Linked DNA regions of Homo sapiens: region 2 is linked to region 1. The links are contacts of gene promoters, found by promoter capture Hi-C in blood cells and fetal thymus (Javierre and others, 2016). All regions are on one chromosome and are shown on one strand. The core of a region is centred on a gene start or on the middle of the fragment in contact, and the rest is flanking DNA. Distances in the headings are between cores, read along the strand shown. Region 1 holds the start of PDE8A (phosphodiesterase 8A). Region 2 holds the start of MRPL46 (mitochondrial ribosomal protein L46).

What was found. Contacts are between HindIII fragments. The CHiCAGO score rates a contact against its expected background, and 5 or more counts as called.
Region 2: the fragment with the promoter of MRPL46 here is called in contact with the fragment with the promoter of PDE8A in region 1 in 1 of 17 cell types (monocytes); the score reaches 5.7 in monocytes.

What each region holds. Positions count from the first base shown.
Region 1 is chr15:84,980,606-84,987,977 of GRCh38, reverse strand. It overlaps PDE8A (phosphodiesterase 8A), which reads right to left and starts at 6,122. Exons shown (of 22, transcript NM_002605.3): 1 at 5,630-6,122. The coding sequence starts at 5,815. RefSeq lists enhancers at 1-50, 5,941-6,473 and silencers at 6,201-6,690, 7,011-7,060. The HindIII fragment of the contact is 13,609 bases long and covers 42-7,372 here.
Region 2 is chr15:88,465,279-88,472,774 of GRCh38, reverse strand. It overlaps MRPL46 (mitochondrial ribosomal protein L46), which reads left to right and starts at 5,387. Exons shown (of 4, transcript NM_022163.4): 1 at 5,387-5,625; 2 at 7,002-7,188. The coding sequence starts at 5,398. MRPS11 (mitochondrial ribosomal protein S11) reads right to left here and starts at 5,067. Exons shown (of 6, transcript NM_022839.5): 1 at 4,993-5,067; 2 at 4,751-4,867; 3 at 50-148. The coding sequence starts at 5,057. RefSeq lists enhancers at 5,217-5,386, 5,853-7,052. The HindIII fragment of the contact is 6,788 bases long and covers 899-7,496 here.

The DNA.
Region 1 (7,372 bases), core at 4,873-7,372:
TGCCTCAGTGTACTGAGAAACCAGGATGAAGCCACTAAGCTTGGGTAAGACTGAGGGCTTACTCATGTCCTAAGTACTTATCCCTCTGTTCTTTTTTTTAAAATTTTTTAAAATATTCTGTCCTTTAAGGTTACTCTGGGATGTCTGCCTCACCCTGTGTCCTCACATCATGAACCTTCTCCTATTTAAGAACCAATCCAAGGCCGGGCGCGGTGGCTCACACCTGTAATCCCAGCACTCTGGGAGGCCGAGGTGGGCAGATCACCTGAGATCAGGAGTTCAAAACCAGCCTGACCAATATGGAGAAACCCCATCTCTACTAAATATACAAAAAAAAAATTAGCCGGGCATGGTGGTGCAAGCCTGTAATCCCAGCTACTCGGGAGGCTAAGGCATGCGAATTGCTTCGACCCGGGAGGCGGAGGTTGTGGTAAGCTGAGATCGCACCATTACACTCCAGCCTGGGCAACAAGAGCAAAAAACTGTCTTTAAAAAAAAAAAAAAAAAAAAAAGGAACCAATCCAAATGGGTAAGCTATCCAAGGGAAAACCAGTCATAAGCCACTTCACAGGAAACATTTGCGCCAGAAGGGACCACAGGCCCTATCATAAACCTTACCTCAGCAAGGCGAGGGTCAAAGCTGGTCAGGGACAGGTTTCAGGTAACAGAATTGTGACAATGTCTATCTTAAGAATCACACTTAAAGTTATGGTGGCAATGACAGTAAGTACTAAAAAACATATGCTATAAATGCAAAGTATTTTATGTATGTAAAAGGAATTCAAGAAAATGAATAAAGAAATATCTTTCTATATACTGAAAAGCACAAGAACACAATGAGGGAACTCACAACCCCTGAGCTCTAGAGATAAACTGTAGTCACTTACTATGGCAGCAGAAAGTTTGGTCTCATTTTTCTCAACTACACTTTCAAAGGAAACTTTCAGTAATTCCATATAATCTAGCAAGGGTCAAAGACCCCTACTGGAGGAAAAAAATCAGTCAGGTCACACACAAAGAGAAAATTGCTTTAGTTTAGCCAAATGTAAAATTTTGAGTAATCAGTTGGGCACAGTAACCCACACCTGTAATCCCAGCACTTTGGTAGGCTGAGGCTGGGGGAATCACAGGAGCCCAGGAGTTTGAGCCTAGCCTGGGCAGCACAGCAAGATCTCGTCTCGACAAAAAAAAAGTTTAAAAAACTGGCCATGCATGGTGCGCACCTGTAGTCCCAGTTACTTGGGAGGCTGAGGTGGGGGGATCACTTGAGCCCAGGAGGTCAAGGCTGAGTGAGCCATGGTTGTGCCACTGCACTCCAGCCTGGGTAACAAAGCAAGACGCTGTCTTAAAAAAAAAAAAAAAGTTTTGACTAATCCACTTTGTAAACTAGGAGCAGGCAATAAATTTTATTCCATTCCAAATGTTACTTAAGTAACATTTGGAAACCACTAAACTTTAGTTGACTAAGATGGCAAGAGTGGCCAGTTTTGTGCAGGAAGGTGGGCTAGCAGAAAAAAGCAAGGAGGAAGATGGAAGTGGGACGGGAGGTGATGCAAAGTAAGAGAAAAGAGGTTGAAGGAAGTGAATGACAGAAGCAAAGGGAAACAGAAATGGACCAACTAGAGAATGTCTGAGATTTTAAGTGAGTGCTGACAGCAGTAACACTCGATTAGAGGTTGGCTTGCAGCTGTACTATTATCTATCACCTTAGCTGCACTAATCCTTACATCTTTTATTTATTATTTATTTTTGAGATAGGGTTTCTGTCTGTTGCCCAGGCTGGAGTGCAGGGACGCACTCTCGGCTCACAGCAACCTTGAACTTCTTACCTCAGGTGATCCTCCCACCTCAGCCTCCCAAGTATCTGGGACTAAAGGTGTGCGGTGCCATGCCCAGCTAATTTTTTTTATTTTTTGGTAGAGACAGAGTCTTGAGATGTTGTCCAGGCTGGTCTCAAACTCCTGGGCTCTAGCAATCCTTCTGCCTTGGCCTCCCAAAGTGCTGGGACTATAGACATGAGCCACCGCGCCCAGCCTCTTTAATCTTTCTTTACAGGGAAATCTACTCTGCTCAACAGGGTAGAAATATATTATTCCCTGGGTACAGTGCTCTGAAGAGCAATAACCAGAGATTTCCACAAAACCAAATCCAAACTTTACAGCCTCTACTCTGGTTAAAACTGGCTTCTATTTCTACTTACCTGGCCTGGGTGGATTTTCAACTTGACAGCCTGGTTCACAAAATTCTCTAATTCAACATACGTTTACGGAAGGCCTACTGTGCATCAGGCCTGGGGGATACAGCAGTGAACAAAACAAACATGACTGCCATCTCACAGAGTTGATTAGTTGGGGTGTGGGGAGCATCAATCATTAGCAGTGCAGTGGGTGTTTGCAAAAAGGAAGATAGGGGGTGAGCATAGGGTCTCTAACACTACATGCAAATCTTTCAAGGGCAACTCAAGTCCTGGCTAGGGAAAGTGGAAATGGGGTAAATCCAAAGACTGGCAAGAAAATATTAAAATGTTACAGTTAAGGCTCACTCACACTGATTAAAAATAAACAAAACTCTAAGTGTTCAAACTGAACACAGCATTCATTATCTGTAACCACATAAACTTAAACTCCCGAAAGGAATAAACAGACAGAGGGTATTTTTAGTAATACTTAAATAAGTTCATACAGACAACCCAGCCTAATATATTGCAAGATCTAAAGTACCTTTGGAATCATTAAGAAGCAAATTACATTCGTTGAGTTTTACTGTTAATTATATTTCTTGTACTTTGAATATTGGTATCTCACATAAAGAATCAGGTCTTAACATGTGGCCTGCCTGACATACACCTCAAGAAAAGGGCTCCACAATCAACTAGTTTAGGAAATGATGCACACTCTAAAAACCACTTGGAGACTCACAGATTACTTTCAGAAATTAGGTTCTCTGACAAGCCCTACATAAAAGAACTCTGTTGAACTTAGTCTGAGCCAGTATAGGCCGCATATCTCTTATCCCAAATGCTTGAGACCAGAAGTGTTTTGGATTTTTTTTTTTTGGCTTTTGGAATATCTGCATTATATTTACCAGTTCAGCATCCCTAATCTGAAAATCCAAACTCTGAAATGCTCCATTGAGCACTTCCTTTGAGCATCATGTCAGCACTCAAAACAGACTTTGGAACATTTCTCATTTTCTGATTAGGGATATTCAACCTGTATTTCCCAAAAACTTACCAGACCACGGAACTCTTTTCTCATACAATACTAACAGTCCACATATTGTTCCATAGAACACATGCAGGATACACTTTAACGCAAAGTACATACTGCTTAACCTAAAAATGCAATTAGTTATCAATCTCCCACCCACACTGATAAACTGGTATTTACTAAATGCTGTAGGACTATAAAAGCATCCCCCAATGAATTTCTTGTTGAAATTCACTTAAAGATATGCTGACTTACAGTTTTAATAAGAAATTTTGTAATGAATTAAATTGCATCTTGAGATAATACAAAGAAACTAATTTTATGATTTAATTTTGCTAAATTGCTAGCAGTTTGCCTTCTCTAACATGAATTTCCAGAGCATAGTTAATATCTTAAAATTTAAAAAGATTCATTTTCAAAGAAAAAATATTAGACTAGAAAAAATGCTGACATTTACCTCTGCTCTACTATCTGACATGCCTAAATGCAAATAACTGTAAATGAGATATCAACATGTACAGTTCATGAATAACAAGTATGGGGCTATTATTTCTGTGGTTGTGGTGTTATAATTTATAATTTGACTCCTGCTCTGGAAATACTATTATTTTGAAGTCTACATAGGAGGCTTTATGAAATCAAATTCCAATGACTGAAAAAGTTTCATCAATCAGTTAACAATTTTTTAAGAAATCAGTAAACATTTATTTAGTACCTACTATGTGTATGCCACTGGGTTAGGCACTTTAAGGATGAAAGTATTTTCTGAGCCCCCAACACAAGACAATGGTCTGCCAATACAGAAGAATGGTTGAAGTAAGTACTTAAAAACTCAGGGACCTAACGGCACTGCGATAGCACAAGAGCAAGCTGCTGCTGCACTGGGGAGGCTTACAAGACACCTAGGTGAATTTTAGGACACCCAATCCACCACAAAAAAAGCCTGTAAGACACAAAGGCCCCTCACTATAAAAGGGCTACTTTGGTAATCTGAAATTATCACATTAGTCTGCAAAATGTTAGATTTGGACTGAAAACTTGAAAGCTGTTAAAGTTTCCATATGCACCTGTGTAACACTTTTTTAAAGCCAAGTAGGCTTAACACACAGCTTAACACTGATATTAAGAGCACCTTGAGTTAGTAAGCCTAAACCATCAGAGGTTTCTTTAAAGAATCTATAGGAGAAGGAATTCAATTTCTGATAATCAGAACAAAGTTGAATTTTCACTTAGGGTATGGGAATGGTGGGGAAATCAACTGTTATGCAACACTGAAAAAGACTTTCCCCTTTCGTACAGAAAAAGTATCATGACGACTGCTAGAAATGTAAGACAGAAAGTACATCAAACTATATCCCTCAAACTTCGGAGGTTCAGCAGTTCTCAGCAAGCAAGGAAAAATCAAACAAATTTTGCAAATTACTCTTTCAAAAACTGGTCGTGATGAGAGGGATGACAGCCAACAATCTGCAGCCATGCACGAATTTTGTTGTTGTTGTCTTTTACTGGTTTAACAAAACATAAACCAACGCATGAGTTCCAGCTTTAAATTCTGAAATGAGAGAACTGGAAAGCTGCTGCTGTGTGCCTTAATGATCACGTTTTTCTTTTTCCTTTTTAACTTTCCTTTAGAAAACCTCAACAAAGACTAAGCCCAGAAACTTTGACAAAACATAAGCCAAGGCAACATGCGCTGGAGAAGACACGCAATGTAAAAAAACAAAAAACCCCAGTCACAAAATGTCCCAGTAAGTCGGCTTAATAAAAGATTAACTTTGTTCTGCTGAATGCTTCAAAAATCGCGTTTCACAGTATTTTCTAATTACATATGCTTTAAATACAGTATGTATGCTAATAAACGTGGACCTCAAATACATGTGCAATGAAGCAAAGCTGATGTTCCAGATTACATTCTAGCAGTCCCGAAGAAAATGGTAACCTGCAACTGCATGTGCAAAGCTGACAGAGGGAAAAGAGTGGTGAGGCCAGTCGCCCTTCCCTTTCTACCACAGGAAAAGAACAAAGTTCACACTGATTTAACATTGCAGGGGCGCGCCAGAATATCCTGGGGGTTTCCCTCAAACACCCGCTCTTGGAGAGGAAATTGATGCAAGCGCCTCAGTCAACTTCACATCGGGCCCCGCCGCTCCGGGAGTCGGATGTGTCCAAAAAACCGACGCCGCGACACAGGCGGCGTCCTAATCGCAACCCTAGGAAATCAGGGTCGCGGGACCTGGGTCGGTCCTTCTCTGAACGCTGCCCCGGCAAGGCGGGAGACTGGCGTCAATCAGAACCATCCAAAGCGGGACAAGAGGGCACCGAGGCCGGGTGGGGGGGACCCCGCCCGGCCCCTGCGGGAAAGTTGCTTACTGGCCGGGCCCGAGTTTCGCGGCGGCCCCAGAGTGCCCGGCGCCCCTTACCTTCTTGCCGCTGCCGTCGCGAAGCTCCGACTCCAAGAGGCCGGCGCCGCGGGTCCGGGGCAAGGCGGCCGTCTTCTGGCCCTGCGGGAGGCGCGGCCCGCCGGACGACAGCGGCGGTGCCGCGGGGCTAGGCGCGTCCTCGGCCACCAGGCGCTCGGAAATGTGGATGCTCGGGGCACAGCCCATGCTGGCGGCGGCGCCGCGGACACGCTGGCGGGTAGCCGCGATCCGGTCAGCAAACGGCCCACCCGGCGCCTCCGGGCCGCCGCGGGCGCCGTGTCATCGCCGCCTGGGCGGGCGGCGGCGAGCGCGGATCTCGCGTCAGGAAACGCGGCCGCCCCTTTTATCGCGGTGCGGGCGCTGCGGCGGCGGCGGCTGCGGTGGGAAGGGGGCGCTTAGGCGGGTGGCGTGCCGAGGCCGCCCCTCCGAACATGCCCTTCCTGAGGCAGGAGCCGACGGCCGCCTCTCACATCGCCGGGCTCGCCTCGGCCGCGCTTCCGGGGAAATAGGGGGAGGAGATTTGCGCTCTCCTTACCCAGGAGCGGCTGAGTCCACGCCGCGCGAGCCACGCTGCCCTCGCCGAGCTGCGGCACGACCCCCGGGGGAGGCGAGCTCCCGGCCGCGCCCGGCCCCGCTCCCGCCGCCGCCGCCGCCGCCTCCCCGGCTCCAGACTCCGCCTAGATGTGGACACCCACGCCGCTCCGCCCGCTGGGCCGCCGCCTCGCGGAAAAGCCCCCCCAGGCCGAGTGCCGGTGGGGTACAAGGCTAGCCTTAGACGCTCCCGCTGGCCGGGGTTTAGGCGCGGGGTCCGAGGGAAACCCCTCGGAGCGGCCGGGCCACGTCCGCCAGGGTAGGGAGGGGAGCAGCTCGGCTCCAGCGGGGCCTGGGGCCGCACCGTCGAGAAGCGCAGAAACGGCTGCGCGCACCCAGGAGTTGCTGGCGGTACGGCTCCGGCTCCGGCTCCGTGATCCGGGCCGGGTTTTGCCGGCAGCGTGCCGCGCCGAGCCCCCAGCGGTGACCTCCAGCGGGTGCTGGCGTCAATGCAAAGCAGCTGGGGCGCCCGCCACCTCCTCCGGACGCCGCCCGCAACTGAGCATGCGCGGCGACGACAGGCGGGGCGCCCGACTGGGCTACCCAGAGAAGGAAAGAGACTTGCCCAGGGACACACAGCCACCTCCGTCCCGAGGCCACCAGAAGCCCGACCGCCAAATTCGAATTCCGGCTCCGTAACTTAGCGGCTACTTGACCTCGGTGGGGTCACCAAGTGTGAGCCCTGGAGCTGTTACCCAGAAAAGAGGCCGGTGGAAAGACCTCCTTTGGGGGTAGTGAAAGTCAAACTGGGGCGCCGCGCGCCGGGTCCCGGGTGGGTGGGGCCTGGGCGTCCGCGAGAAGCCGCAGCCCACGTGCGCTCCCTCGCAGGCCAAAACCTGGCGCGCCACGCCTCGGATTACACAGGCGCCGGGGCGGCCGCAAAGCTACAGCACCGGGCAGGCTGCAGGCGCCCGTCCTCCTCTCATTTTAACCAAAGTGCTAGTCGGGCGTCCGAGACCCCAAAGGCAGAGCCAGGGGAAGGGGCGTACGCATTGCAGGCCTGGGGCCCATGAGGACCCCGGACACGCACACAGCCACTAGCTTGCTGTGTGAACTGGGCCAGTCACTTAACTTCTTGGTGGCTGGGGCTCCTCCCCCACCAGCTGGAGGGCGGTGTCTCTGGGCGTCCATCACGTATCCTGTAGCGGGCTG
Region 2 (7,496 bases), core at 4,138-6,637, 3.5 Mb before region 1:
TGGAAAGAATCTCACGCTAGACCTGCCCAGTGTTTCCCTTCCCACTTACTTGTTGTGGGATGCTTTAATGTGTGCAATTGGGATCTCCTCAAATTTCTTTCCTGCCCACCTCAGAGAGCTCTCCTCTCCTGGAATGGGAGGGTAAATGCTGCAATTAGAAGAAAGATTTTATTTAAAATTGTCTCGACTTTTTAAAAATCAAAGAAATACAACACATGGTTAAAAAATAACAGCTCTGTGCCCCCTGCTGCTTCTTAAGTGGCTGCCCCCACCATTCCTTTTCAGTCCTTCTGGTGCCACCACCGCATGTGTGACTGCTGTGCTTATGATGCTGTTTCTTGACTTGCTGACTTCAGACACATCTGGGGACTTTCCGCTATGAGAAGGGATTTTCATGCATACTCCCCATCTTCCTTGTCCCTGCAGGTATACCCGTGTTCATTATTTTCAGATCCTTTGTAGGTTCCTCTTCCCACAATTTAAAAAATACAGTCAAACCTCTGTTTCTTATTTCATCAACCATAGACAATATCTGGACTCTACATTGCAAAAAATGAGACAAAAATAATACTCATATCATTACCATTAAAAAAAACCCAGAATCCCCTAGAATAAAGGACAGCAAACTTTTTCTGTAAAGGGCCAGATAGTAAATATACTGGGCTTTGCGGGCCAACAGGTCTCTGTCCCAATTACTAAACTCTTCCACTATATCCCAACAACAGGTACAGACAACAGTAAATTAATAGGCTGTGTTCCAATAAAACTTTACTTACAAAAACAGGCAATTGGCCAGATTTGCCCAGTCGACCATAGTTTGCCAACCTCTACCCTAGACCAGTGGTTTTCAATGCAGGCTGAACATCAGTCAGCTGTGAAGCATACAGATGTTTAAGCTTCACCCTGGACTTCTGGATGGGGTATGGAAATCAATGTTGCAAATGTCCCAATAGAATCAGATGTGAACACATTGTGTTGCGTTCAAGATCTTCCACTGTCTTAGTCCAAGCTGTCTTCTGGCTATTTCTAGCTAAGTTATCATCTAACTTATCATCTCTAATAAGTTAACTTATTAATACAATTAAGAATGCCTTAAGAAATCCTTAAGGAAAATAAGGATTTTTATTTTCAGATGGTGAAAATTAGGTACCAATAGGGAAATAGGGTTAGCAAGAGAAGCCAAGCCTTGGACCTAGTAGATCTGTCTCAGTCTAGAGCTTTGCTCACCAAGCTGTGCTTTTTAAAATTTGAACACACACAATCATCCTTCAGCAATGGAGCTGGAAATAAACTTGCTGTTCCTCTAGGCCTACACACATATATCAGATTCATGTTTGTACCCACCACAGCCACTTGAAATACAATAGACTCCATTTTAGAAATTATATTATAATCTAAGGACTACTCTCGCCCCAGCCCTACCTGCTTTTCTAGAGGTATTTTAAAAGGCAAATCAAAAACACATTGGTATTCAAAGTTTACAACTATATTCTTTCCTGTGGGTTTGACCTTAGAAGTGATTAGAACTGCCTCGCAATCATACAGCACATACCCTGTTCAATTATCCTTCCATTCTCCTAGATGACTCTTTTATAGCTTCTTTTGTCTCCTCTAACCTCCAACTCCCTGCTTCCTCATTGCTGAGCGGATGACCTCCACAGGGGAATAGAAGCAATCAGACTTTCTCCCAGCTCCCACTACTGAACATCTGTGCCCACAGCCTTTGCGCTCTCTCCTGTTACAGTGCTCCACTTGTGTATTAGCCCCTGAAGGACACTGTTCCCGCAATGTTCCCACTCCAGTATCACTTGTTTTTTCCCCTCTATACTGCACTGCTCCCAATGGCAAAACATATTGTTATGTTCCAAACTGAAAAAATAACAGAACAACCCTCGAAAACCTCTTGAACCCACCTCCTGGGAGCTATTGTCCATTTCTCTATTCCCTTATAGCAGAGCCCTCTTAAGGAACTTTAAGGTACTGACTATACTTGCTGTTTCTTCCTATCCTCTGCTTCTATTCTCCTTGAACCCATTTCAATCAGATATTAGCCTCTACCACTCCACCAAAAATGCTTTAATCCAACTAACTCCACATTACTAAATATAATAGGCAATTCTGTTATTGATCTAGCAACCTATCACATCAGCAGCATTTGACACAGCTGATCTCCCCACCTTGAGCCAAATTAAAAAACAAATGTTCTCTCCTGGTTTTCCTATTACCTCTCTGGAAGTTCCTTGTCTCTTCTGATGGTTCTTCCTAGTCTCCCAAATCTCTAAATGTGAAAGCGCCCCAGGGTTCAGTCCTTGGACCTCTTCTCTTCATCTACATTTATGGTATTAATGATTTTGTCATCTCATGGTTTTAAATATCATCTCTATGATGTCTCCCAACTGTATATCTCTAGCTAAAGTCTGAAGTCTGACTCTTGAACTCCATTTCTTTTTTTGCTTGTTTGTTTTTTTGAGATGGAGTCTCGTCCAGGCTGGACTGCAGTGGCACGATCTTGGCTCACTGCAACCTCCGTCTCCGGGGTTCAAGTGATTCTCCTGCCTCAGCGTCCTGGGTAGCTGGGATTATAGACCCACGCCACCACACCTGGCTAATTTTTGTATTTTTAGTAGAGACGGGGTTTCACCATGTTGGTCAGGTTGGTCTAAAATGCCTGACCCGGTGATCCGCCTGCCTCGGCCTCCCAAAGTGCTGGGATTACAGGTGTGAGCCACCGCGCCCGGCCCTTGAGCTCCATTTCTAATGGTCTACATTGTGTCTCCACTTGAATGTTTATTAAGAATCTCAACCTTAACAACTCCCATCCAAACTCCTGCAGTCTTCCCCATCTTAATCAATGACAACTCCGTCTTTCCAGTTGTTTAGGCCAACAAAATTTGGGGTCTTCCTTCGCTCCTTTTTCTCACACTGTATATTAACAAATCCTGCTTGTTCTACCTTCAAAATATGTCAGACCATTCATAATACCTCCATGGCAATAACCATGGTCCAAGCCACCATTGTTTCTTGTCTGGATTATTTCAATAGTCTTCTAACTGCTTAGAGGACTTTTCCCAGCTTCCATTCTTGCTCTCCAATGGTTTAATATCAACACAGCAGCCAAAGAGCTTACAAGATCTTGTCAGCAAGATCATGTCAACCCTTTATTCAGCAATTTCCATTGGCCTCCCATTTCATTCACAGTAAAAGCTGAAGTCCTCACAACGGCCTACAAAGTCCTACAGAATGTGGCTATGCAGGCCTGCTTGACCCCCACTTCCCCTTTCCAACCGTTATACTCCTACATTTTACTTGTTTTCTATTTACTGTCTTCTACCCACTGGAATTTAAGTTCTATGAGGGCAGGGCTTTTTGTCTGTTTGGTCAGGGATATATCCCCAACACTCTGAACAGTGCCTGGCATTGTTGAAGAAATGACTACAACAGAATCTTGGTTTAGATGCTTTCAGCAGCTCCTCACTGCCTTCAGTGGGGACAGCGTAAAAGCTCCAGTGTGACAGACAAGACCCCTGGCATTCTGATGCCTTCTTGTCTTGTTGGCCTCATCTGCCATCACATACACACCTGAACACACCATGTTTTTTCATACCACATGCCTTTACACAGATGGTTACCTTTGTCTCCAATGACCCACTTCAACTTGTCCAGATGAACTCCCATTCACTTCTGAGCTCCATGTTCTTTTCTCCATGGTCTTGCCTGATTTCCTCAGGAATGAGACACTTATTCTTTTTTTTTTTTTTTTTCTTTGAGACAGAGTCTCAATCTGTCACCCAGGCTGGAGTACAGTGGCGTGATCTTGGCTCACTGCAACCTCCGCTCCCTGGGTTCATGCGATTCTTCTACTTCAGCCTCCTGAGTGGCTGGGATTACAGGTGCCAGACATCACGCCTGGCTAGTTTTTGTGCTTTTAGTGGAGACGGGGTTTCGCCATGTTGGCCAGGCTGGTCTCGATCTCCTGACCTCAAGTAATTCGCCCACCTTGGCCGCCTAAAGTGCTGGGATTAAAGGCATGAGCTACTGCACCCGGCCAGGAGTTAGACACTTATGATTTCATACTTCCAACCAATGCTTACCTCCATTATATTATTGAGCAGATTATGGTTAAAATGTTTGCATGTTTGTCTTCCCTCAAAGACTGTGAACTACTTGTGGGGAGGAATGATCTTTTGTATCTGTATTCACGGCACCTAGCATGGTGTCTCACTCATAGTAGATTCTTGGTAAATGTTTGTTAAATGGATGTGAAGTTAAGTGGATGTGTATACAGCATACAGAGGTGGTGGCACTGGTGGGAAGCAAGATGCCAGTTCCTAGGGCTGAGCACAAAACCCACCCTGGACCATCCGTAAGACGTGCAGGAACATCTGTTCCATCGCTAGCGCCCTCTACCTCCCCATTTTGTTTTGGAGGCAGGGAAGGTTATTGGTCTGAAAAGATCTCCATCTCAGAAGAAAAGAACGCTGATACATGTTATGGATATCTCACATTCACTCATTGATTTAACGAATGTTCACTGAACATTTACTCTGTACCACGGCTCATCTGATTCTCACAACCTCTCTCAGCATTATCCGCATTTTTAGATGAGAAGGCTGAGGCTCAGATTTATTTGCATAAGGTCCCACGGATAGCAAGTGACATAGCTGAAAATTCACTGGTTCTGACTCTGGAGGGTGTCGGGCAAGAGTCAGGGGTTGCGGGTCTCCAGAGGGCTGGTCCAAGTGGGGCTCACCTGAACTTGGTGTGGCTGGGAGCCGCGTTCTGTTCAACTTTCTGCTTGGCCGCAGCGTCTTGGAGCTGTCGAGCGCCTGTGCAGATGGTCCCGGCCGGCGTTCTGGCCACGACCCTGCTGGGAAGAAAAGCTCGGTGAGGGCCACGGCCTAACGGTCACTGGGGCCCGGGTGGCTCAAGGGACACGAGTAGGAGCATAGTCCTGGAGGTGGCGGTGGGCTCGAGGGGGCAGTCATTTGTTACCCGGCTGTCTGGGGCCAAGTCCAGGACCGCAGGAACCGCGACCCCGCGTTTCTCACAGCCTGCATGACTTGAATTGACCCCAGTCAGTTTCCGTCTGCAGCGACAGTCACAGCTGCGCCGGCGCCGGTACCATGAGTGCCTGTCGGGGAGGGGACAGAAGGGAAAGTCATCTACTCTTCATTAGGTCCACTGAATATTTTTATTTCCATTTAAATGCTCAATAAGACTTTCACTGTAGTTCACCAGGGGATTCTTTCCCTTTTTTAATGTTCTGAGATGGTGGGTCACCCCCTCCATATGCGAATGGTTCGTTCTAGCAGTTCCGGGACTGAGCTTTCCCCTAGTTTGCCGCTCCCGCGGCTGAGGGATCCCTGGGAGCCGCGGTGCATTGTGGGAGAACGAAAGATGGCGGCGCCCGTAAGGCGGACGCTGTTAGGGGTGGCGGGGGGTTGGCGGCGGTTCGAGAGGCTCTGGGCCGGCAGTCTAAGCTCTCGCAGCCTGGCTCTTGCAGCCGCACCCTCAAGCAACGGATCCCCATGGCGCTTGTTGGGCGCGTTGTGCCTGCAGCGGCCACCTGTAGTCTCCAAGCCGTTGACCCCATTGCAGGAAGAGATGGCGTCTCTACTGCAGCAGGTGGGACTGAGATGCAGGGTTCAGAGTGACGTTTATTCTGCGTGACTTTGAGCGAGTAATTTCACCTCTCTGAACTTAAGTATACGGTACTTATCCGCAGAATGGTACCTACCTTACTGACTTGGTTTGGTACATAGATGTTCAACAAAAAGTGGTTTCTTTTCATTGGCCGTGTTTATTGTCACCTTAGACAACTCTTTGGAGATACTCTACTTCTTGTTCATGCAACACAATAGGGATCCTGTGGTGAACAAGAATCGGTCCGTGTCACTAGGAGCTTACAAGTCTGGAGGGAGAAAGTCTTTGTGATGTGATGAATGTTAAGAAGGAAATACAAGAGGCGGTGGGCACATCTGTCAGATGCCTATGATAAGCCTACTCTGTTTTATCTCATGGGGCTATCTGTGTGAGGGGCAAGTGAGGAAGCATGGGCAAAAACAGTGTAGTGGCTGTGAAGGTGTGAGGTCGCTACAGAAAGTGTTTGAAGGGTGATATGTTTCCTCAGAATCCGAGATGTTTTTGTCTTGGTCTGTTGAGAACTATAAACTTCTCTTCTGTGCTTTTTGCTTGATTTATTCATTTACTCGCTCGCTTGACAAATATTTGTTACTCAACCTACAGATGTTCATTGTGCCCATACTATGCATCAGAGAGTATGTTAAGTGATAGAGATGCTGTAATGAATAAGGCAGAAGTAGCTCTGGTTCTCAGAGTACTTCAGTCTAGTTGAGTGAGGGGATCAGTCAGTAACCAAATAATCATACAACTAAATGCAGACCCTGATAAGTGTTGTTAAGGAAAACACAAGGCACTATAAGAGTGTTTAACAAATACATCACATTTTGATTTTATGGTGAGTGTCAAGGAATGCCTCAGACTTTCTGAATACAGGTTTTTCTCTTTATGAGAAATGTCTCTCTGAGACAGTCATATTTAAATTGAAATCAGAAAGATGAGTAGGACTCTCCCAGAAGAAAGAATGTGAGGAAAAACATTCTAGGAAGAAGGAACAACCTCTTGAAAGTCCCTGAACAGGAAAGTCCTTGGTGAGTGAGATTCTGATCAAAGACTGACATGACTGGATTGTGGTGAGTCAGCAGGCATTGCCCAACCCAGCTCTCTGTTTTTGTAGCACTCTTGACCCCCAGTGACATTGTAACATTTTTGGCAAATGTAACTCAAGCCCAAAGTTCAGAGGACCTTTTTTTCCCTCCATTTCCTTTCTGCATGGTGTTTTGACTGTGTATCTGGTTATGTTGGGTGATAAACTTCTGAGCTTGCCAAGTGTGCCATGTCTCTGTTTTATTCTTCCTGTTTTTTTTTTCCTTTTAATTTTGCCAGATTAAGGTAGTTTTTTGCCCTTTGAATTTTCCCAGATTGAGATAGAGAGAAGCCTGTATTCAGACCACGAGCTTCGTGCTCTGGATGAAAACCAGCGACTGGCAAAGAAGAAAGCTGACCTTCATGATGAAGAAGATGAACAGGATATATTGCTGGCGCAAGATTTGGAAGATATGTGGGAGCAGAAATTTCTACAGTTCAAACTTGGAGCTCGCATAACAGGTTGTGATCCTTTTAGGCCAGCCAGAAGGAAGGGAAAAGGGGTATTTGGATTCCCAAATAAAAGACAGTTGCTTGGCCCCTGCTTTGTGTTTTAAGTAACAAATAATTTCATATTCTTTTCTTTGTTGCTCACATCTACCATAATACGACTTAAAAAGTCTGTCTTATTTTCGGGTGAGAGGTAAGGGTATTGGAATAGCCTTTTCTCTCAGTTAAACTTTGTGAATGTTATCTGTGTTTAACTCCAAGTTTGAGACTGAGAGTGGGGCAAATGAAGCCTTTTTCCACTAATTCCTGTGTTTTATGTG